Linked DNA regions of Homo sapiens: all the other regions are linked to region 4. Evidence: promoter capture Hi-C in 16 types of primary human blood cells and fetal thymus (Javierre and others, 2016). All regions are on one chromosome and are shown on one strand. The core of a region is centred on a gene start or on the middle of the fragment in contact, and the rest is flanking DNA. Distances in the headings are between cores, read along the strand shown.

Evidence for each region. The method cuts DNA at HindIII sites, captures the fragments that hold promoters and counts their contacts. A CHiCAGO score of 5 or more calls a contact.
Region 1: a fragment that was not itself captured here is called in contact with the fragment with the promoter of LCT in region 4 in 1 of 17 cell types (erythroblasts); the score reaches 6.1 in erythroblasts.
Region 2: a contact is called between a fragment that was not itself captured here and the fragment with the promoter of LCT in region 4, in 1 of 17 cell types (neutrophils). The highest score is 7.0, in neutrophils.
Region 3: a contact is called between a fragment that was not itself captured here and the fragment with the promoter of LCT in region 4, in 6 of 17 cell types (neutrophils, monocytes, total B cells and 3 more). The highest score is 10.8, in neutrophils.
Region 5: a fragment that was not itself captured here is called in contact with the fragment with the promoter of LCT in region 4 in 1 of 17 cell types (neutrophils); the score reaches 6.2 in neutrophils.
Region 6: a contact is called between a fragment that was not itself captured here and the fragment with the promoter of LCT in region 4, in 1 of 17 cell types (M2 macrophages). The highest score is 5.0, in M2 macrophages.
Region 7: a fragment that was not itself captured here is called in contact with the fragment with the promoter of LCT in region 4 in 13 of 17 cell types (total CD4 T cells, activated CD4 T cells, naive CD8 T cells and 10 more); the score reaches 12.0 in total CD4 T cells.

What each region holds. Positions count from the first base shown.
Region 1 is chr2:135,158,662-135,162,342 of GRCh38, forward strand. All of the region lies in intron 19 of RAB3GAP1 (RAB3 GTPase activating protein catalytic subunit 1), which reads left to right. Among named protein-coding and RNA genes, the nearest start is that of SNORA40B, 24 kb to the left of the region's middle. The HindIII fragment of the contact is 6,425 bases long and covers 1-3,681 here.
Region 2 is chr2:136,455,908-136,459,241 of GRCh38, forward strand. No RefSeq gene overlaps it. Among named protein-coding and RNA genes, the nearest start is that of THSD7B, 310 kb to the right of the region's middle. The HindIII fragment of the contact is 1,081 bases long and covers 747-1,827 here.
Region 3 is chr2:136,417,581-136,421,243 of GRCh38, forward strand. No RefSeq gene overlaps it. Among named protein-coding and RNA genes, the nearest start is that of CXCR4, 300 kb to the left of the region's middle. The HindIII fragment of the contact is 7,220 bases long and covers 1-3,663 here.
Region 4 is chr2:135,835,428-135,838,801 of GRCh38, forward strand. It overlaps LCT (lactase), which reads right to left and starts at 1,757. Exons shown (of 17, transcript NM_002299.4): 1 at 1,103-1,757. The coding sequence starts at 1,742. The HindIII fragment of the contact is 13,164 bases long and covers 1-3,374 here.
Region 5 is chr2:136,436,717-136,440,053 of GRCh38, forward strand. No RefSeq gene overlaps it. Among named protein-coding and RNA genes, the nearest start is that of CXCR4, 320 kb to the left of the region's middle. The HindIII fragment of the contact is 3,596 bases long and covers 1-3,337 here.
Region 6 is chr2:135,122,805-135,126,268 of GRCh38, forward strand. It overlaps RAB3GAP1 (RAB3 GTPase activating protein catalytic subunit 1), which reads left to right. Exons shown (of 24, transcript NM_012233.3): 9 at 1,361-1,442; 10 at 3,377-3,445. Among named protein-coding and RNA genes, the nearest start is that of SNORA40B, 12 kb to the right of the region's middle. The HindIII fragment of the contact is 2,885 bases long and covers 463-3,347 here.
Region 7 is chr2:136,399,730-136,403,051 of GRCh38, forward strand. No RefSeq gene overlaps it. Among named protein-coding and RNA genes, the nearest start is that of CXCR4, 280 kb to the left of the region's middle. The HindIII fragment of the contact is 4,517 bases long and covers 1-3,322 here.

The DNA of each region.
Region 1 (3,681 bases), core at 1,182-3,681, 680 kb before region 4:
TCATGAATATTAAGTCTAGGTGGAAAATTGAAGAGCATCATCTTGCATGATTTTTAAGTGTTTCTCTATAGAGTGCTTCTGCATTGCAAGGAAAGTGGAGAAATAGGACAGTATCTCCAAATTAACATCACCAATGAGGAGTAAATGGAGATCGTACACATTGGGCTATGATACTCTGATGGACCCAACACCACTTAACATGCCATTTGGTTCAGGAATGTAAAATCTTAGTCTAATTGTGAGGGAACATTAGATGAACCCAAAATGAGGAACATTCTATTTTAAAAAGATTTTGAAAAAAGAAAAATTTGCAGAAGTTTGGGGGCATATTAAAGACACAGGAGCCAACTGAAAGAGTTCCCAACTGGCCAAGACTGGAACAATTTGAACACCAAAATAAAATAATATTGGATTGTAACTCAGAGTACAAAATAAATATCCTTGAGTTCATACTGGTATAAATAATTGATTGGATATATAAATTAATGGGATAGAAGGGACAAATCCCCTGTGCAGAATTCTAAATGTATATAGATACTCCACCCTCAAGGAGGTGAAGCTAATTCCCACTCTGTAAGTGTGTGCTGCACATAGTGTGTTCCTCCCAGAGAGTACAGTGCACAGAGAGGGGAAAGGAGTGATGTTACAGTGCAGCAGCCCGACTGACACTGTCTCAGCCAGGTGGTGAAGGTTAACATCCACAGGCTAAGCCATACTGGCGGTATGTACTCCTGACATGATGTGATGACAGTGGCACTTTACCTCTCTGGTCTTCCTCCCAGAAATACATAACCCAGCTTAATCATGAGGAAAACATCAGATAAACCATAATTGAGGGAGTTTTTATGAAATACTTGACCAGAACTCAAAACTGTCAAGGTCAGTAAAAACAATGAAAACCTGAGAAATGTCACAGCCAAGGGAGCCTAGAAACATGACAGCTAAACATAATGTGGTATCTTGAAGGGGATCCTGGAACAGGAAAATGACATTAGATAAAAACTAAGGAAACCGCGTACATACATACATGCTGACAGCATTATTCATGACAGCCAAAAAATGGAACAAACCCAAATGTCTGTCAGTGATGAACAGATAAGACAAATATGGTCTGTCCATGCAATGGAGTATTATTCAGCCATAAAAAGGAATGAAGCACTGATATGTGTTACAACATGGGTGAATCTTGAAAATATTATGCTCAGTGAAAGCAGCCAGAAAACAATGGGCTGCATGTTGCGTCGTTCCATTTATATGAAAGGACCAGAATAGGCAAGTCCATAGAGACAGTAAGTTAGATTAGTAGTTGGCAGCAGTGGAGATTAGGAATGGGGGAAATCAGGAGTGGCTGCTTTGGGGTACTGGGTTTCTTTTGGGGGAGATGAAAGAAAATATTCTGGAATTAGATAATGGTGATGGTAACATAACCTTGCAAATATGCTAAAAACCACTGAAGTTATCCATTTTAAAGTGGTGAATTTTATGGTATGTGAGTTATAACTCAATTTTTAGAAACTAAGGAAATCTGAATACAGTATGGAATTTTAGTTAGCCAAAAAGTAGGGAGGAAGAGGAAACTATACTCAAAATGCCAATGTTATAAAAGACAGAGTGAAAAGCTGTTGCAGATTAGTTGAGATTAAAGAGCTATGATAACTAAAGGCAATGGATGATCCTTACCAAGACTTGTAGTGGTTGAGGGAAAGGGTCATAAAAGACACATTTTGCGGCCGGGCGCGGTGGCTCATGCCTGTAATCTCAGCACTTTGGGAGGTTGAGGTAGGTGGATAATTTGAGGTCAGGAGTTCGAGACCAGCCTGGCCAACATAGTGAAACTCCGTCTTTACTAAAAATACAAAAATTGGCCGGGCAGTAGTGGCCATGTGCCTGTAGTCTTAGCTACTCAGGAGGCTGAGGCAGGAGAATCGCTTGAGCCTGGGAGGCGGAGGTTGTGGGGAGCCAAGATCGCACCACTGCACTCCAGTCTGGGCCAACAGAGAAAGACCCTGTCTCAAAAAAAAAAAAAAAAAAAAAAAAAAGACACATATGGGATCAGTTGACAAAACTGCAATAAAGATAGTAGGTTAGATTACAATTATTTTTATCAGTGTTAAATTTATTGTATATAATCAGAATCATTTGCATTTTGATTATATAATAAAATATTTTTAATTTTAGGAAATACAGATATTTTGGGATAAGGGACATGAGTGTGCGACTTATTCTGAAATTATTCGAAACAAGTTTATGTCTATAGTATGTACACACATGAAAGCAGAGAAAGATGCAAGGGATCCAGAACAGAGGAGGGAGACAGGTCATACGTGAATCCAGGTAAAGGGGAATCACATATTTCACGTTATTCCTGCAAATTTGTTTTTCTGTGAATCAGGGGAAAACAAAATTCAGAAAGGTGGGTATTAGCAAGGATGTACAACAGAGGGAACTCATTACTCTAGATAAGAATGTAAATCTGTTGAAACACTTTGTAGGATAATTATGTTGTACATTTCCTAGTTCAATTGTTAGGTATATATCCTAAAGTAATTGCTGTACATGTCCCATTTGCACCAGGAAATATGTGCAATAATGTAATAGGAGCATCATTTGTAATAGCCAAAAACTGAGGAGCTATCCACTACTATTAGTGTAGGAACATTTTAATACAGCAGTGAAAATGAGTAAACTATAGCATATTGGAATGGTATACGAATATCAAAATACTGAATGAAAAAAAGCAAGTCACTGAGGGCTATAAACAGAAACACTCCATTAATATAAAGGTTAAAACTAGACAAAAGTAAACAATATATTATTTAAGGCTACATATGTGAAAAAAACCATAAAGAAAAGCAAAAGAATGATTTGTAGTTAATTCTGGGGATGGAGGGTACACAGGAGGACTTGGAAAAGCCTGGTAACATTCTGTTTCCTAAGCTGGTGTTTTCTTTAAACTATTTCTAATACTCTAGTATGTATATTTCTTAATTTAAAAAAAGTTTCAAATCAGACAAAACTCTCTAAGCCAAAAAAAAGTCCACCACAAGTCATTAAATAAAGCAAATAATAAAACAGTATGTAAGTTATTAATTTTTGTTAAGAAATTACATATGCATCTACATTTTTGTGTTTAAATGGACATACAAGTAGTTTGAGAGGATAAACACGAAAATGTGGTTTTGGGGAAGTAGGATTTCAGGAAAATTTCTGCATCACCTGTATTTTTTTTAAAATTTTGAAATCCATGAGCATTTATCAGTCAGACTCACATTATGAGATTATACTTCTTAAAATTTTTATTGATGTAAAAGAATTGTACATATTTATAGGGTTATACTTCTTTTATCTTTACTGTTGAATAAGGAGCCTAAAGGTAGGGTCCATGTTTTGTACATACTTCTCTGTATTCTTATAATAAGAATTGGAAAAAAAATAAACCAAAACAACTAAAACCAAAAAATGTGTGGGAAGTCACTAACAATGTTTAGAAATATTAAGTGAGAAAAGCAGGTTAAAAGGCAGTATTTTACATATTTAATATTAGTGCCCTTAGTACGTGTATTCTGCGTCTTAAAATGAAAATGCTCCACTGTCAATGGTTGTTTTCTCTTGGTATTGTAATCAGTCGGTAGTTTTTATTTTCTTTGTATTTTCCTTATTTGTGTGTATTACATAAGAAAG
Region 2 (3,334 bases), core at 37-2,536, 620 kb after region 4:
GATCAGCCTCCCAGTCTACACCAGTCTCCCCTCACCATGGCTGCTCCACTCTGCATAGACACCCTCCTCTCTTCCTGCTGGGTTCTGACACTGTGCTGCATCTGCCACTGCTCTGGCCTGCACAGATGTCTCACATCCCACTTGTGCATCTTCTGATGCTCTGGCCCTCTGCCTGGCTGTTCTCTTCACTCCACTTGGGCTCTGACACCCCACACTGGACCTCTTTCCTACATAGATATCATTCTTACCCTGCTCAGACTCTGACGGTACGGGCTGGGCTGCCCCTCACATATACACAAGACCTACCTCTTCATGCAGCTAGGGCTCTGATTCTCTGCACCGCCACCCTCCTGGCCCCACTGAGTCTCCAGAATCACAGGCTGGGCTGGGCCGCCACCCCTTCTCCTTCACCTTCCCCTTCCTCACTGCACCTGGGCTCTACAAAGCATCCAGCTATTCTCTGCTCTTTCCCCTCCTCACACCCTCACACACTCATGGGAATGCTCTCTGCACCCTGGGAAGGCTACAACACTTCACTCTGGGGCTTTGCAAATTTCTCCCCCATCTGGGGCATTTGGAGTGAATTCTTCAGGTCAGAATGGGAAGGGGGAAAAGGGGAAGAGAGAGGAAAATACAGGAAGGCTTCAATATACTTTTAAAATGGACTTCGTTATCCACAGTACCAGAAGAATTTAATCTTAGCATTTGTTTAGGAAGGGTACAAAGTCACTCCCACTTTAACTCAAAGCTTATGAATCTTATACTCTCCTAAAATAATAATTTCATATCTATAGTGAGATAGATATATAGATAGAGATACATGTCAGGTTCCTAGAGACATTAAGTGTTTTTCTATGCTTACAGCTAATATGGTAGGGTAGAAGCATTTTTCTTTCTTTTTTCTTTTCTTTTTTTTTTTTTTGAGATAGGGTCTGCCTCTATTGCCCAGACTGGGCGGTAGTGGCGTGACTGCAACTGACTGCCGCCTTGACCTCCCAGGCTTAAGCGATCCTCCAACCTCAGCCTTCCAAGTAGGTGGGACTACATGCACAAGACACCATGCTGGACTGCTTTGTAAAATTTTTTTATAAAGACAAGGTCTCACTATGTTGCCCAGTCTGCTCTTAAACTCCTGAGCTCAAGTGATCCTCCTACCTCAGCCTCCCAAAGTATTAGGATTACAGGTATGAGCCACCACACCTGGTATGAGAATTCTTGAATTTAAAATCTGCACAGTGTTGCAATTCTTGTTTTTTTGTTGTTCGTGTCACAGTTGGATTATATCTGTGTGTCTCTCTTCCTCACTAGACTCATTAATGTCTCTGATGCAGGTCCTGAGGGTTTTTCCCATTCCCAGCACTCTGATCTGTGGGCTTGCACTTCAGAAACAGCAGCTAAGGAAGCTGCTTGTAAAAGTGTTAGATGAAAGAGTCAGATACAAAGTTTGAAAGCAGGCTTGCAAAATGAATTTTCCTGTTTCCATAAGCTACATCAGTCTGAATTGGGGAAGGAGAGGCACCTTTGAAGGAGGGAGTAGGGAGGAAAGAGTTGGAAACCCTCTGGGTTGGGCTGGTGGCTGGGAATGATGACAGGGACTTTCTGGGGAGAGTATCAGAGAATCATGTGTAGGTCACTCAGCTGTCCTGCTTATTGCTGTCACCAACAGCCAGTGGTCAGCCTGTTAGCCATGAGTGTCTGGGTTGAAGTGACACTTGTCAGGGCTATGGAGAGCCCATTCAGCCTTTTTCCCTGTCCCAATCATAACTTGGAGATAGAGACTGGGGAAAAGATAACCCCTGGTGGGCTGAGATGATGGTCTGAAGAGAAAGCTTGCCCTTAATAAAGATGGGGCTAAGCGGGGACTGGATAGAACCAGTGGGCAATTGCGTCTTGGGCCAGTAGAGTGGTAAATGTGCAGTTCCTGTTATATTATTGTTATTATAGTAGATGTATATGCAAATTAAAATATTAGCACAGCACTCTCCCTGTGTTAGTCTGTTTTTTTGTGTCACTATAAAGAAATATCAAGCCAGGTGCAGTGGCTCACAACTGTAATCCCAGCATTTTGGGAGGCTGAGGTAGGAGGATCACTTGAGGTTAAGAGTTCAAGAGCATCCTGGGGAACATAGCAAGGCCCTGTCTCTACAAAAAAATAAAAAACTAGCTGGGTGCAGTAGTGCATGCCTGTAGTCTCAGCTACTTGGGAGGCTGAGGTGGAAAGATCAATTGAGCCCAGGTCTTCTAAGGCTGCAGTGAGCTATGACCATGCCACTGCACTCTAGCCCAGGCAACAGAGTGAGATCCTGTCTCAAAAACAAAACCAAAGAAACACCTGAGACTGGGTAATTCATTTAAAAAAAGAGGTTTAATTGGTTCACAGTTCTGCAGGCTGGGCAAGCATGCTCCTGGCATCTGCTTGGCTTCTAGGGAGGCCTCAGAAACTTTTACTCATGGCTGGAGGTAAAGCAGAAGCAGATTCATCACATGATGAGAGTGAGAGCAAGAGAGAGAGAGGGGAAGGGCCACATACTTTTAAACAACCAGCTCTCCCATGAACTAAGAGAGTGAGAACTCACTGATCACCAAGGGGATGATGCTAAGCCATTCGTGAGAGGTCCACCCCCATGATCCAATTATCTCACACCAGGCCCCACCTACAACACTGGGATTCACATTTCAACATAAGATTTGGAGGGGACATATATTCAAACCACATCATTTTGTCCCTGACCCCACAAATCTCATTGCAAAGTATAATCATCCCTTCTCAATAGTCCCCTGAAGTCCTAACTCATTCCAGCATCAAGCCAAAGTCCAAAAGTTCCAACTGAGACTCACCTCCTTCCACCTATGAGCCTGTAAAATCAAAATAAGTTATTTACTCCCAAGATACAATGGTGGCATAGGCACTGAGTAAACAATTCCATTCCAAAAGGGAGAACCTGGTCAAAAGAAAGGGGTATAGGCCCCATGCAAATCTGGAATCCAGTGAGGTGGTCATTCAATCTTAAAGCTCCAAAATATTCCTTGAATTTGTGTCCTGCATCCAGGGCACACTGGTCCAAGGGGTGGGATCCCAAGGCCTTGGACAGCTCCACCTCTGTAGCTTTGCAGGTGCAGCCCATGTAGCAGTTCTCATGGGTTGAAGTTGAGTGTCTGTGCCTTTTCCAGGCTCAGGATGCAAACTGCCAGTGGCTCTACCATTCTGGGGTCTGAAGGGCAGTGGCTCCTTTCCCACAGCTCCACTAGGCAGTGTTCCAGTGGGGACTCTGTGTAGGCCTCCAACCTCACATTTCCTTTCAGCACTACCCTAGTAGTTTCTCTGTGGGGGCTG
Region 3 (3,663 bases), core at 181-2,680, 580 kb after region 4:
CCAGGCTAGAGTTTGGCAGCTGAAACGCACACACACGTGCTCTCTGAGGGCTGAATTTCCGATGTACCTGGGGCACAGATGGGTCAGAAATGAATGGAATCAGCAGAGGCGATTGCTATCATTTTTTATTACTGTTCAGTGTTTGATTTCTGCTGTAGCCCTGGCAGATGACAACAGATTGTTGGGTATGAACAAGAGAAGATTATTTTCTATCTGATCATTCTTTGTGTGTATTTGGGGTGACCGAAGGTTTTTAATATTGAAAAGTCAAACAGCCTGGACCATTTCACCCACCATCAGCTTAGCCTATTATTTACAGTCCCATTCCTTTAACTTTCCAGTTCTTGGAAAAAAAAAATCAACTATCGACTGTTTGGACAGATAATGTGGGAAGATGAAAGTGGGAGATAAATACACATCTTCCATTACTCTTAGATCTCTTCTGGAGTCTTCGGTTGACACACAGTCTCCTATTTGTGCCTTATGTGGGTGTCCCATGAGAAAGGTCCATGGATATGGCAAGTATTCTTTAACCATGTCATGCCAAGGATTTGGGCATAGCAAGGGACTAAGTGCCTGGAAGAAATATTTCAGCATCTGGGGAGTTCTTTAAAATACACAGATAATTACTTCGAGATTTCTATAATTTAACTGCAAGTGTTAAAAATATATTTCCGAGGATTGATTGGGTGCTAAGCCAGTGTTTACATCTGGGAGGTAGGTCAGGGACAGGGGGCGGTGACAAGGAAGAAAGGGACATTAAGACTGTGACTGGTCTGGGATTTTACCCCACTTGCCAGCCGACAAGTTAACCTGCCACAGTTTAATGGATGCTGGTGGACTCCTGGGTCAGAGACAAATAACTTTACTATATTCCACATTAGCAGTAACCAGAATATCAACATTTGTATCAGGGCAATGTGGAGAAGGCCAGGTAATGCCTGTGTGTGCAGTGAGTTGTGTTACAGAGGTACCCTGAGTTCAGGGAATCCAAATCTTTTCTAACAGGGAATAAGCATGGCTGGGCTTAACTCCAGAGGCAGATGCCATCTTTATGACGTGGGCAATAAACAACCTTGCTCTTTGCTCTGGAGGGAGGCACAATTTCTGTCTTCCAAGGCTGCTCTCTATACAAACATCCTGGGAAAGATAGTCTCCAGCAAAGGCAGTCAGACACATGGAGAATTGTCTTCCAAGAGGGACTTAGAAATATTTTGGCCATAAAGATGAAATTAACTCCCTCCCCGCCAGCTCCCTTAGGTGAGTTTACCCCTTGGGTCACAGTAGCTTTTTCTCTTTAACTTCCAAGGAAATCCAAGGAGACACATTTCTATCTGAACTCAAGGCACAAGTCAAACCCTTCCTGGGGTCAAAGGCTGAGAAGAATTGTGAAAGCTCTGTCCACTTCATGACCTGTATATCCCTTTTACTTTGCTGCTCATTGCAAGGTAGTTGAACATTCCGACTATTAGAAATGCTAATTTTACATCATCTTTAACCTCGAAGGGACTGCAGGTTGTTGCCTGGGTCAGTCCTTGACTGAGACAGACTTTACATTTTGGGCAACTAAGGTTTGGAAGAATTAAGTGTCGTCTTCAAAGTCATTCAATAAAGACCTAGTGGAACGATGATTCCAAGTGAGGTCCACGGAAATGGAAAATTTCCTGTCATTTTCCTCAAAACCAGAGTTTTGACTAGGGAATCTTTTTAGACAGGATCGACCAAGAAAGGTTGAGGGGAAACTAAGATGAAAGATGGGTGATGGTCCTCAGAATACCTTTCCTTAGCAGTTGTCCAGAAAGCAGTGTGTGAAAGAGATTGCCAGTTGCCTACCCAGTATCCATGCTCTCTTGTTTTTTTAGGATAAGATCCCTGTATATTTGAGTATGGCAATTCTTCCAACTTTTATTTAGTTTTTAATTTTAAAATTTCTAATTTTAAAGATTTTAATTTGTTTTTAATTGAAAAATAAAAATTGCATATATTTATCATGTAGAATGGGTTTTGAAATACGTGTCCATCATGGAATGGCTAAATCAAGCTAATTAACATATGTATTGTCTCACATACTTATCTTTTTGTGGTGAGAACATTTAAAATCTCTTTGAATTTTTCAAGATGCCCTGCTTAAAAAAACAAACATATTTGTTAGCTTTCCTTGAGGTTGGGGTGGTCAATGAGGTGTGAGTGGAAGTCACTTCCAGCAAAATTCCTTCAAGGGGATTCACCTGGCTGGCAGGAGACCCATTCCTTTCCCCGTCTCCCTTCTCCCTGCCTGGAACATGGCTAGGATAACAAGTCCCAGTGACAGTCCTGGGATGGTGAGGAGACCTCATGGATGGAATCTGAGTGGAAGATGGTGGAGCAGAAAGTGAGAAGAAGCCTGGGTCATCGCTAACACCATAGGGCACCACGCCAGCCCTGGACAATGCACTTTTGGATTTCTTCTGTGTGAGCGAAAAATGATGCCTCCTTTTTTTTTTTGCCACTGTATTTTTGGGTAGCAGGTGAATGTTAATTTTTAACAGATAGTGGGTGCTTACTGATACCTAACTGTGATCCCTGAATGTTCATTGTATCCAGTCGAGTTTCTTAGTTGCAAGTAACAGAAAGTTTGGCAACCTTTAGCAAAAAAAGGACTAATGAACTTTTTAAGAAGGTTTACAGGGTCAAATAATGGAAGTGATGGCTGAGGAACTTGGAGCAGGTGGGCACCAGATTGTTCCAGAACATCTTATAGTGGGCTCTGCTCATTGTTCTCTCCAGGGCTCCACAGGAATCAATGGATCCTAATTTCTTGTCTGTCCTTGTGTCACTGTCAAGATTCAACATCTCAGGGAAGCGAGTATTCTATTGGCTGAGCCAAGGTCACAGGACTGCCCTGTATCAAGCTGGCGAGAGGAAGGACAGAGCAGAAGGAGCCTCGTGGAGCCCCTCCAGCTTCCACTCTGGGAGGGCAGGCACGTGGTTTTATTGTCCCACGAAGACTGCACACAGTGAGGGCCAAGGTGATTCCCTACAAGGAAATCAGAGCATGGTTGGGAAGTGACACTACTGAGTGCCTCCCACCATTAAACAGGATTCAGTATAGCAGATTTGGCGCTTTCTGTGATGAGGTGAATTGGTCAGGATAAAAGGCAAAGATTGTTACATGAAGGCTTCAGGGATGAGCAGTTTCTTACAGACCTGATAATAGCAGTGCCTTTGAGGAGGGCAAATGCTTCATGCGAAATAATTCTTTTAATCTTCTCCAGTTGATGTAGATGTAAGTGATATTTCATGGTAAAAATACTAACACATCTATTTCCTCAGTTGCCTCTTTTTCTTCCTTTAACTGGCTGCAGTTTCTAATTCACACTCATGAACCTGTCTTCAACAATTACAGGTCTTCATGGATCTCCCTAAGTAGGGGCAAATAGTCTTGTTCCTCTGTGTTGGGAAACCAGGGCTCCAGAAAGATCAAGGGCTGTCCCCAGGGCCACAGGGTATGAGGGTGGGGTGGGGAGGTAAAAGCGAATTACAGAGTCTGTGGCTAAGGTGGCTGTAGGTCGTCAGTTAAGTGCTGGCTGCTGAGGAGAGCGGGCCTCAGTGTGAAGAGGCTCATGAGTAGAGAAATGAATGTGATTGTCTAGCCTCAGAAAGTCTAGGTTGTCGTGAAATATT
Region 4 (3,374 bases), core at 507-3,006:
TAAAATGAGAATATAGTCATAAACTATGTTAAAATGAAAAAGTAGAACATAGAAGTATATATATATATATATATATATATATATATATATATATATATATATATCAGGTACTATATATACAAATATGTATGTATATGGTATATAATAAAAACAAGAAAGCATATATAATCCAAAATTGATTCTCAAAATTGGTGTACCTAACATACACTTAGGGAATTGATTATAATCACAAATGTCCTGGTTCAGCCTAGGCCTACAGATCAGAACTTCAAGTCCCCTAGGAGGCAGGAATGTGAACAGTTACAGTTGTGCTCTCCTCATCCTGTGATATATAATTGTTTCATCTTGTATTTGTCTGTCTCCCAAGCTGCAATGTAAGCTCCAACTAAGACATGTAAGTATAGGGGAGCCGAGGGGGAAGGACAGGAAACCACGAAACTTTGCCTCCAAGTCAGGGTAGCAGGACATAGACGGAAAGGAAGACAGAAAGACAATCAGTGCTTGCACAACTCAAGACTGGGCAAGGGGTATTTCAAAAATACATGTGTGTATATATATATATATATATATATATATATATATATATATGTATACATATTTTTTTTTTTTGAGATTGTGTCTTGCTCTGTCGCACAGGCTGTAGTACAGTGGCATGATTTCGGCTCACTGCAACATCTGCCTCCTGGGTTCAAGCAATTCTCCTGCCTAAGCCTCCCGAGTAGCTGGGATCACAGGCGCCTGCTACCATCCCTGGCTAATTTTGGTATTTTTAGTAGAGACGGGGTTTTGCCATATTGGCCAGGCTGGTCTCGAACTCCTGACTTCAAGTGATCCGCCCACCTCGGCCTCCCAAAGTGCTAGGATTACAGGCGTGAGCCTCAAAGATATTTTTCAAAGGAAATGCTGAGTGTTTTGCCATGTTAGCTACCCCTTCCTATCGCCAGTGGGAAATCAATTTACAATATTAATTTCTCCCTATGCACAGACATAAGAGGACTGCTGAAGGTGAGTTGGGAGAAATGTCGAATCTGCTCTAAGGAGGATGGGGAAGGTGTGTGATGAAGGTTGCCGAGGGGTCACCATCAGGTCAATGTGTACTCACCCTGAAAAGCATAGCTTTCGTGGTAAATCTCATAGGCTTTTCTGTGGGCATCACTGAGGGTCTGGAGTTGTGACGCTCTTGATTCCTGGTGGGGAAGCTCCTTGATCACTTCCTCCAAGTCACTGAAGGTGAACCAGATCCCAACTAGGTCCCCGAAGGAGTGGAAGGCGAATGTGGCATAGTCGGCGAAGAGGTCAGCAAAGGCTTCGGTTCTCCGGAGGGTGCTGGCAGGGAGGGTCTGGTGGTGCAGGATGACCATGGGCTGAAGCCGTGCAGTCTTGAGGGCCTTGAGGAGTCGCCGGTAGCACTGCACTGTTTTCTCGTCTGGATTCTGGGTGCTTCCTGCTGGGAGGAGCTGTGCCCATGACAGAAATACCTTATAATGGGTGATCTGACTGGCATGGAGACTGCTGAAGTATTCTGGCAGGAAAGTGGGCAGTGGCTGGTGACAAACATACATGTCTTTGTCCCCTGCTACAAAGTTAGAACTCTGGTCTCCCAGGAGACCACTCAGGTTGTGCAGCAAGTCATTGGTTAGAGGACCAGCGGTGGAAATGAAATTTCTATCAGACTCCCAGTCTGACCCCCAGCATGAAAAACTTAGCAGGGCAATAAAGACTACATGCCAAGACAGCTCCATTTTCTAGGAACTGTTAGGAGGTATGTGGAACCCTTACTTTATAACTGCAACTGAGGTTGTAAAATACTAAGTGATAATTAAGACTTAATATTTAACTGGGTTATCTATGATCACAAAATCAGTACACGGTTCACTAATGCAATATTTAAAAATGTAAAGATCAGGGCCGGGCGTGGTGGCTCACACCTGTAATTCCAGCACTTTGGGAGGCCGAGGTGGGCGGATCACGAGGTCAGGAGATCGAGACCGTCCTAGCTAACATGGTGAAACCCCATCTCTACTAAAAATACAAAAAATTAGCCAGGCATCGTGGCATGCGCCTGTAGTCCCGGCTACTCAGGAGGCTGAGGCAGGAGAATCACTTGAACCCAGGAGGCGGAGGTTGCAGGAGCCAAGATCATGCCACTGCACTCCAGCCTGGGCAACAGAATGAGACTCCATCTTAAAAAAAAAAAAAAAAAAAAAAGGTAAAGACCAACACAAAAACCTCAGACTTCCTATACAAGTTAAGCAGAGGAACCCGGAAAATGTCTGAAGAAAACGATTACCAATTTTTTTTGTTTTTTTTGTTTTTTGGTGACCGGGTCTCACTCTGTTGCCCAGGTGGGAGTGCAGTGGTGCGATCACAGCTTCCTGCAGCCTTGACTTCCTGGGCTCAAGTGATCCTCCCATCTCAGCATCCTGGGTAGGTGGGACCATAGGTGTGCGCCACCACGACTGGCTAATTTTTTGTATTTTTAGTAGAGATGGAGTTTTGCCATGTCACCCAGGCTGGTCTTGAACTCCTGGGCTCAAGCAATCCTCTTGCCTCAGCCTCCTAAAGTGTTGGGATTACAGGTGTGAGCCAGCGCACCCAGCCACACATTATTTTAAAATTTGTTTACATAATACAAAAATAAGTATTTTGCCCCAAATTTTCTCTTTAAAAATATGCTGAACATATTTTGTAAGAGATTCAAACAATATGGAAACATCTATGAAAAACTTGCAAATTCCTTCACCCTCCCCCCTCCTCTTCCTATAATAAGTATCTTCAGCAATATGTATCTTTCCAGTTTTCTTTCTCTGCATATCTTAATGGTTATACAGGAGTCAGAATGCCTGGGTTTAAATCTCACCTGACAAAAATTACTTAACTTTGTGCCTCTATTTTGTCACCTGTAGAATGTGGATAATTCATCATAGGCTGTGGGGATTAAATGGGTCTTTCTTGTAGCATGTATACAACAGTACAGCTCAGGGATCATTATTATTACGTAAATACAAATGGAAACGTGTATAACATTTAAAATATAGAACAATTTAACATATATGGAATTATGCCATATGTATTTTCAGCCTTTTCTTCACTTAATAGCTCTTAGAGTTCTGCCTGTATCAGAACATATAGACCCACCTCTAACAGATGCATAGCTTTCCACAGCAAGAATGTACCATAAATTAACATCTTGCATATTAAACACCGGTTGGTTTTACATTTTTGTGTTGCAAACAATGCTGCAAATGAATATCCTTATATACAGGCTGGGCATGGTCAATCACGCCTGTTTTGCCAGTACTTTTGGAGGCTCAGACTGTAGGACTGCTCAAGCCCAGGAGCTTGAGGCCAGTCTGGGCAACACAGGGAGATCA
Region 5 (3,337 bases), core at 522-3,021, 600 kb after region 4:
GTTGATAGCAATAGTGAATCATGGTTTTTATTGCATGTCAAACAAACTTGACTTTGGGGATATAACCAAATATAACTTCATTGTTATTTCTCATTGCCTTTTTAAATTTCACCAGGTAGGCTGGGGTGGGGAGTAAATTTCTCTTGCCTATGATAAAAATTTGGGCAGGTCTGTGGCTTTTCTGCTCACTCTTAGGCAGCAAACCAATAGTTATACTAATTGCAAACACAGTTCAGAAAATAGAATCTCCAGACCTCAACAATAATCAAATCTCTGAATATAATTAGCATGAGATGTTGTGCCTCCTGTGGCTGGACCCCCACTGTGGCTGACCCTTTGTAAGAGCAGAGCCATGTCCTTCTTGCTTTGTCTGCTCTTCTCTCTGTACCGGATAACTGCTGTTCCCAGTCACTGGGGGAGGAAGATGGGGAGGGAGGAAGGGAAGGAGGGACAGCAAATCTCCTTGCTGAACTGCCATCTGTGTCGCACTCCCAGGCCTGGCAGATATTTTGAGCTGACTCTCACTCCCACGGATGTGAAGATCGGGGGCTGCAGTTCTAGCCATTGTAGCTGCATCAACTTCGAGAAGTTATTTTATTGATTGATTGATTGATTGATTGAGACAGAGTCTCGCTGTGTCACCAGGCTGGAGTGCAGTAGCTTGATCTCGGCTCACTGCAACCTCTGCCTCCCTGGTTCAAGCGATTCTCCTGCCTCAGCCTCCCAAGTAGCTGGGACTACCGGCGTGTGCCACCACACCCAGCTAATTTTTGTGTTTTTAGTAGAGACGGGGTTTCACCATGTTGGCTAGGCTGGTCTTGAACTCCTGACCTGGAGTTTGCTGGAAATCCTTCTACCTGGGAAACCCACTGACACTACCTTGATACAGGCTGTGCAATTCCTTCCCGCCATGCTGCCCGCATCCCTGTTATCTGACATTCCTCCACACAGCATCTCACACTCTCCACATGCTCCTGGGCAGCCTTTGGGCAGGATTTAAAATGGCTCCAGGCTAGCTTTCCCTCAGGGTCTGCATCCTGTCCCAGTAAACCCTAGAGGTTCAGACCAAGCCCAGCTGTGTGCTCTTTCCAGCTGCCACATGCCAAATGCAGCGGCTGCCTGCTCAGTTTTCTGTCCAGAGCACAGTGTTCCCTCACTACAGGGATGCTCTTCATGGTCTTTGAATGGATCAACAGAAGCACCTTCTCCAGAAAGCAAGTCCTGCTTCCTCTGCATGGAAGGGTTAGGGTGGGACTCCCAGCATCATGATAGTTCTCTTCAAAGCAATTGCTTCACACATTTCCCCTTCCTCCACTCTCAAAATTTTATATTTCCAAAGCAAATAAAGGCCACTGAGTAAGGAGCTCAAGAGTTACAAAACTGGTTCTCAACCATTTCCTGAAAATTCTGTATTGGAAGCTGTTCCATACTCACTTTGCTATCAGATATCTGTGATATTGGCATTTCGGTTGGAGCAAACAGAATTTCAGTGTAGCATCTTCTTCCAGAGGAATGCAAGGCGGTAGAGATGAAGAACCCCTGCTAAAGATGGAATGCTTGTGTCCCCCCAAACACATGTGTTGAAACCTAATCCTCAAGGGGAAGGTGTTAAGTGGCGAGGCTTTTGGGAGGTGTTTAGGTCATAAGTGCAGAGCCCTCATGAATGAAATGACTGCTTTTATAAAAGAGACCCAAAAGTGTTCCCTTGTCCACCACATGGGGACACAACGAGAAGACAGTCATCCAGAAACCAGGACATGGTCTTTCACCAGACACTGAATCTGTTGGTGCCTTGATCTTAGACTTCTCAGCCTCTAGAACAGTAAGAAATAAATGTTACTCAGAAGGCACCCATTCTTCTTTTTTTTTTTTTTTGAGACGGACTCTTGCTCTTTTGCCCAGACTGGAGTGCAGTGGCGCAATCTCGGGTCACTGCAAGCTCTGCCTCCTGGGTTCATGCCATTTTCCTGCCTCAGCCTCCTGAGTAGCTGGGAGTACAGGCACCCGCCACCATGCCTGGCTAATTTTTTATATTTTTAGCAGAGACGGGGTTTCACCATGCTAGCCAGGATGGTCTCGATCTCCTGAGCTTGTGAACCACTCGCCTTGGCCTCTCAAAGTGCTGGGATTACAGGCATGAGCCACCGTGCCTGGCACACCCATTCTTTTGGTATTCTATTATAGCAGCCTGAACGAAATAAGATACCCCCCCCCCCCCCAAGGCCTCTCTAAAGCTCAGACCAAGAAGGTTCCCACTCTCCCTGGAATTGAAAAAATAAAAAGCCAGCAATTGTCCTGGTGGTAATAAGTATGTGTAATGATTTACGTAATCCAAATGGCCATGAGAACTGAAAACCAGCTCATGCAAGAGGTTAGGCAAATCCTTGCTAAGGAGGATAGTGCTGCAAACTGTCGTTGTCTATTTAAACGTCACGGGAAGTGCCTTATGGAAGAGGCAACTGGAATTACTGTGTTCTTTCAGGGAATAGAGTGTGATGGCTTCTTATACTTATGGTTGTCCAAATGCAAATGCAGCAGCTGTCTGCATAGCCTCGTGTTGGAGGGTGTGCTGAAAGCCCAGGAGTGGATTTCTGCATCATAAAGGAAGGTGTGATTTGGCCAGAAGATTAGTGGCCCTGCCTTATGGCAGTTCAGCAGCTCCTGCAAAGTTTCTACTGTTCAGTTTGGGGAACTTCCTCCACCTTGGACAGAATGCTGCCTGCAGGACTCTGGCTGGCTTTCTGCCAGAAACCTGGAGCAAGGGGCTGCCTTTGGGGTAGAGGGCTGAAGTGGTCTCTCTGCATGTGAGCTCATATCCTGTTCATTCCCAGGAATCCTGACATGTTCTTCCTCTATCCACACAGCCTAACCATTTTCCAAGTCTTCTGCTCAATTCCCCCTCCTCCATTAAGCCCTCCTTGATCACTGCCTGGAAGCCCTCTCACCTTGAGGTCGCACAGCAGCATTGTTATTTACTTCCTTTCATTGTTGCTGTGGACCTTGAGTAAGGGCATCTCTGCTGTTACCTTATGTGCCTTCTGGGAGGAGCTGAAGGTGCCCATGTGATAGGTAAGAGCCCTGGGGGGCTCTGATTAGAAATCAGTTGGAAGGTGGGACCCTCTGCTGTGGGATTCAGTTTGTTAGATATTTGAGCCCTACCCAGCTTGAAGTTTACAGATTCTTTTTTCTTTCTTTCTTTCTTTTTTTAACCTACAACAGGTGTTAACTGGGCATGAACTGTGTGCTGGGCTCAGGGATAGGCCCTGAGACACATTAGGAAGAGTGGTAGTACTTGTTCCTCCAAGAACCCAGTGTTGAGGGAATCTTGCCACATGTA
Region 6 (3,464 bases), core at 655-3,154, 710 kb before region 4:
TCTGCCTCCTGGGTTCAAGCGATTCTCTTGCCTCAGCCTCAGCCTCCTGAGTCTCTGGGACTACAGGTATGCACCACCACGCCTGGCTAATTTTTGTATTTTTTAGTAGATATGGGGTTTCACCATGTTGGCCAGGCTGGTCTCGAACTCCTGACCTCAGGTGATCCACCCTCCCCAGCTTCCCAAAGTGCTGGAATTACAGGTTTGAGCCACCGTGCCCAGCCCAAGACAAGTATTGTCTTTCTTAGAGATGTAAGTTTCTTAACCCATGTAACTGGCTTAAAGTCATATGGTCACCAAGTGATAAAGTTTGCATACAAACACTAGTCAAACTCCAAGTCCGATGTGCTTTTCATTCCACGAGTTGCTTCTCCCTTTTTAATTCAGCTAAAACTTTTGTACAGTTATATTTTAGTAATAATTTTTAATTTACTAATTATAAAAATGTGCTTGTAATTTTGAAGCTTTTACAAACTCACTTGTAACAATGCTAGTCATTGTGATCTTTCTTATTATAAGCATTCTTTAGTTGGAAAAATGGAATTGACTTGAGAAAATTTACTGAATCAAGTAATTGATTCATATTTGATGACTAATTTTAATCATTTACTTAGGATGTAGATAAATATCAGATGTGATTTTAGCAAATATGGGAAGTTTTGTTAACTCAGTAGGCTTTAATTTCAGGAAATCCTAGTATAGTGTGAATAATTAAATATCACAATTTGTATTATTTCAAAGAGAAAAAAATCCTTTTGATGCCTTTTAGAAATGCTTATTACTTCCTCAGGAGAGATAGAACTAAGGGAATGATTTACCCTCTAAGTTCTCTTCCAGTCTAGTATGCCATTCGTAATGGAAAGGAGGTTCTTTTCTGATCTTTATATATTTCCATTTACTATCAACCAAAATATAATGTTATTAATGACGACAAATATACTAATTTCCTATTCAGAAATTACTGATAGCAAAACTGATTAATGTAGTTGGTGATTTTTAAATACTTGGATACTCTTTTTGGGTTATACTAATTACATTCTTTAAAAATGCAAAAAAATGTACAGAAATAATATTCTCTTGAGTAATATTTAAGGAATATTTCAGAAGGGCAAAATTTAGAATACCTGGCCTGAATGAAATACTGGATAAATAGGAAATAAGTGTGCCCTTTTACTGTAACATTCTCTGGGGAAGTCAAATATTGTTAGACTACATATGCTGTAAGTTGGTCTAACTTGCTAACTTGCTACATGTGTTCTCTTGCAGACACTTTTAAAGCTATGATATTCCAAAGGGCTTAACTAGATTAGACTCTTCTTTATTTTTTCCCAAATGATGGAAAAATATTTCTTTTGTTTAGACATAGATGCCCTTGTAGGAGGAGAAGTTGGAGGCTTGGAGTTTGGCAAGTTACCATTTGGTGCCTGCGAAGATCCTATTAGGTGAGAATTTCAACCTGTCATTTGAATTGTGGGAATATTTTACTTTGAATTTATATTGATATTGATTTCACTGTGCTTTATGATGCTATAGCTTGCTGGGATGAATGTAGTACTGGAAATAAAGAAAGACGTACACCTGGGCTGGGCACAGGCTCATGCCTGTAATCCTAGCGCTCTGGGAGGCTGCGGTGGGCAGCCCCTGAGGTCAGGAGTTCGAGAACAGCCTGACCAACGTGGCGAAACCCCATCTCTACTAAAGAATGTCAAAATTAACTGGGTGTGGTTGCGCACACCTGTAATCCCAGCTACTCAAGAGGTTAAGGCACAAGAATCACTTGAACCCGGCAGGCAGAGGTTGCAGTGAGCTAAGATCACGCCATTGCACTCCAACCTGGGCAACAGAGCAAGACTCCGTCTCAAAAAAAGAAAGAAAGACCTACACTTGCTTTATTTATTTTATAATTTTACATGAAAACTTTCTGAGATTTGATATTCATCTATAACTCAGCAAACTGTGTCCTTTGCCAAATCTGGCCATTAGCCTATTTTTGTATGGCCAGTGAAGTCAGGATGGTGTTTACATTTTTAAAGGTTATGAAAGAAAAAAAATAAAATAGAGACTGTGCATGGTTCACAAAACCTAAAATATTTACTCTCTGGCTCTTTATAGAAAATGTTTGCCAACTCCTGATTTATAACATTTTTCAAACTTGAGATATAATTTACCTGCCATAAAATTCACTATTTAAAAGTGTACAATTCAATGGTATTTTAATATTTACAGAGCTGTGCAACCATCATAATCATCTAATTCCAGAACATTTTCATAACCTTAAAAAGAAATTCTTCACCTCTTAGCCATCATTTCCCCTTAGTCTTCTCAGCCCTCCGGCTCTAGGCAAACACTGATATACTTTCTGTCTCTTTGGATTTACCTATTCTGGACATTTCTTATAAATGGAATCATATAACATGTGGCTTTCTTTGTGTCTGACTTATTTTAATTAGCATGTTTTCAAGGTTTGTCCATGTTGTAGCATGAATCAGTACAGTAGTACCCCCTTATCCACAGCTGGTATGTTGCAAGATCCCCAGTGGATGACTGAAAACATGGATAGTACCACACACTAAATATTTTTCCTGTGCATACAGATAAGTAGTAAAATTTAATTTATAAATTTGGCACAGTAAGATTTCCAGGTGATGTAATACAAAATAAATAAATAAATGTAAATGAGGCATAGTAAGAGATTGACAATAATAACTAATAATAACATAGAACAGCTATAACAATATACCTTAATGAAAGTTATGTGAATGTGATCTGTCTCTCTCAATATATCTCATTGTACTATGCACACTCTTCTTGTGATCACTCTGATCACCAAGACAGTTACTAAGTGACTAACAGGGCAGGTAGCATAGACAGTGTAGGTACACTAGACAAAGGGATGATTCACCTAATGGGGTGGGATGGCACAAGATTTCATCATGCTACTCAGAACAACATGCAACTTTAAATTTATGGATTTTTTTTCTGGAATTTTTCACTTAATATTTTCAGACTGCAGTTGATTTAGGGTAACTGAAGCTGCAGAAAGTGAAGCTGTGGATAAGGAGGAACTAATGTACTTCTGTGCTTTTTATGGCTGTAAATATACCATTGTATGGATATGCCACATTTTGTTTATCCATTCATTAGTTGGTGGGTTATTTATGCTTTTTGGCTATTATGTATAATGAGATGAATGTTTGCAAAACATTAACTTCATAAGGATGTGCTACCATTTGCTAAATAAGTTGTTTCCAGTATGTTGTATTATAAATAATGCCACTGTAACATACTTTTATTTCCTTGGTATAGTTTTCTAGAAGTATTAAATATAATTGCTGAGTCAGTATTAAAGCTTTTGGGTATATTTTATGTTTTTTAGTGAACTCCATTTAGCTACTACATGGCCTCATCTGACCGAAGGGATCATTGTGGATAATGATGTTTATTCGTAAGTATGTTAAGAGTAG
Region 7 (3,322 bases), core at 684-3,183, 560 kb after region 4:
CTTGAACTCCTGACCTCAAGTGATCTGCCCACCTCAGCCTCCGAAAGTGCTGGGATTACAGGCATGAGCCACCGTGCCCGGCCAGAACTGGTTCTTTTGTATGCTTATGAATGACTGGTGGCTGAGTCAACCTCCAGTGATCAATCCCTATTGTAGATAACTTCAGTACAGGGGTTGATTACTAGAGGGACAAAGCCATGATTACGGGGTGGAACTTTCAGCCCCACCCTGACCTCCAGAGGAGGGCTGGAGATTGAGCTCAATCACCAAAGGTCAGTGATTTCATTAATCATCCTACATAATGAAACCTTCATAAAAACCCATAAATGACGGGGTTTAAGGAACTGTGGGGTTGGTGAATGCACTGAAGTGCTGGGAGGGTGGTGTACCCAGAGAGGGCAGGGAAGCTCTGTGCCGCTACTCTCCATACCCTCCCTGTGAATCTTGGGTTATGTAATAAATGAGTAATAGCAAGGAGATTTCCTGAGTTCTTGGAGTTGTTCTAGTGAATTATTGAACCTAAGGTGGATGTTGTGGGATCTCCTAAATTTATAGTTGTTCCATCAGAAGTGCAACTGGCAACCTTGGACTTGTGAGTGGCATTCGAAGTGGGGCAGTCTTGTGGGACTGAGCCCTTAACCTGTGGGGTCTATGCTAATTCTGATAGTGTTATAATTGAATTGGATTGTTGGATACCCAGTTGGTGTCAGAGAAACAGAATTGATGTTGGAAAATATACCAAGTATTTAGTGTCGGGGGAGGGGGAAGCCCCTAACGTGGATTCCTAGACAGGTGGTACCAGAAACAGGGTTAATGGAAGTGTTGCTCAAAAAGCACATGCCTACAGTATTCCTTGGCCCTGGCTGGATTTCGGATTTGCTTCTCCGGACAGATGGATTAATCTTGTGGGGACACTCTCATAGGATACCACCTTTCTTCCAGCCTTGAATGCTATGGCTCATCTGGGAAGTGGTTCAAAGTTTGATATAGAGAGCAAAAGTTCTATAGTGGGTTGGGGGAGTTTAATGGGTGAAACTTTTCTTGAGGTCAGTGTGATATTACACATCACCTTAAAAATGCTCCTACTCTTTGGCCTTGCATTCTTAAATTTTGAGAATTAATCCTAGGGTAGTGATCTAATAGGTGAGTCAGGCTTCAGGCAAAATGTTATTATTATACCATTATTTATATTAGAAAAAAATTGACCTTGAAAAGCATCTGTTATAGGATTGGTCAAATAAATTTCAGCATATCAGCATATCCTTAGGATGGAATAATATGTAACCACCAAAAATTATACAGAATTTAAGTCCATTGGCAAGTGATACAAAATATAATTTGATATTGATATTATCATATTAACAGTATACTCAATATATAATATCATTTAAATTGTATCAACCATGCTTTATTGAAAGGACTAGAAATTCACACTCCAATACAATAATATTGTTATCTTGGGTGGTAGGATAATTGGTGTCTGAATTCTTTTTCTTATATTTTATTCCGTATTTCCAGATTTTTCTGTGAGGATGCTGTCATTGTGTCTAATCTACAGGGTAAGACCTAGAAGGGCAAGAAATAGAGTTCTCCTTTTATAATCAGGAGAAAAGTTAATAAAAAAAATTCCTCAGCAGTGAATTCTGCATCAATTGAGTTAGACTCTTATCTCTAGAGCTGTGCGAAGAGGCAAGGGAATGAGAGTTTATGGGCTGCATTGATTTTGCACTTTTTTTTTTTTTGCTTATAACCTGTAACCCATTCAGGGTTACACTTGAGTTGAATTCTCTTAGGATGTGGTGTGAGTAGGAGATATAAATACAAATCAAAGGCTGGGACAATTGGGAGAAGGCTTGTCAGAAGCACACTTAGGAAGGGGGCCATAGGATGGATAATTCCCCTGGGTAGACTCAGTGGGAGTGAAGGGCCAGGCTTGTCTTTCAGATCTGGAGAGTGTTGTCAACTGATGCTAGTTGTACAATTGAACTTAAATCACTGCTGAGGACAAGGGGAGCTGAGAGCTTTTTCTGAGGCCATGACATGCAGCCTCCAGCATCTTTGGAAGACCAGGCTCCTTAAATACGAGTCCTAGCAAAAGAATGAACTTGGGGAAACACATCTCCTTTCCCTGCCCTCTCTCAAGGAATGCTTAGGGCTCCTTTCTGAGATCCCATCAGCTCCCTCTGCCCTGCCACTGTTCTGGCTTCATATGGCTCTGACAGCTTTAGTGGCATCCCCAGATCCTGTGTCCAGTACCTCCTCAAACCTCCCTGACCAGGGTCCTTCTCTTTCAGTAGCTCCCATCTCTGCCGATCTAGAAAAGTAGGCACATACACCGTATTCCCTTCCCAAGTAATGCTTGAATTTGCATTCAAGTTTTGGCCCAAAGTACAATGATAGGCAAGAGGGACCGCATGGTCCCCTAGAGCCCTTTTCCAGCTTCTGCACTGTTGTCCCTAGCTGTGCATGTGTTTTGTAGCCTCTTGGAAGAAGGGTGCATGTACTCGCTAGAGAAGCCAACCTCCTCCTGGGATTCCTGGCCCTTCTCCCAGACAATCCATCTTTCATCACTTCTGGAGAACTATTTATCTATCTTTTTTTCTTTGACTTTTTAGAGTGGGTAATACTTTTGAATAGGTGCTACTTCAAAGATGACAAAGCATGGAGAGCAAACGACTCTGGCGCATTCCTGTTCCTCTCTGCTAGGTTCACTCCTCCCCATTGGAGAGGACGAAGGCAGAGCCAGCTCTTCCAGATGGCCACCCGATGGTCCCAACCTCATTTATTGAACAGTCCATTTTTCTCTGCTGATTTGAGAGGATGTCATAATGTTCCATATGTATTTGGATCTACTTCTGGGATTTGTATTCTCTTCCACTGTCTGTCTATTTACACGCGGACATCACTGAGAACTCAGGGCAGGCAGCAGCTATTTAAGCCTAGAGAGAGGTGCACAGCTTTTCTCTTTCTCACCTTGTTCTAGACTTTAGTTTCCTTCTCCTTTTAGACTCAGTGCTGGTGCCACACTAATATTCTTACAGTGACATATGGGGTAGATACTATGATTCCCATTTTATGGATAAAGAAAATGAGGAACAGAGAGGTTTATGCGACTTGCTTAAGGCCATACAGCTGCTAGGTAGAAGAGCAGGGGCTACAAGCCCAGGCAATACATCCCCAAGACAGACATCTAATTACCATGCCTCTACCCTTTTTCACAATGGTCTTTATGAATATAATTAATATTAATAGCTACTGTTGATTGACAGCTATCTGCTAGGCGTCGTGTTGAGTGCTTTGCATATAGTGTCTTATTTAACTT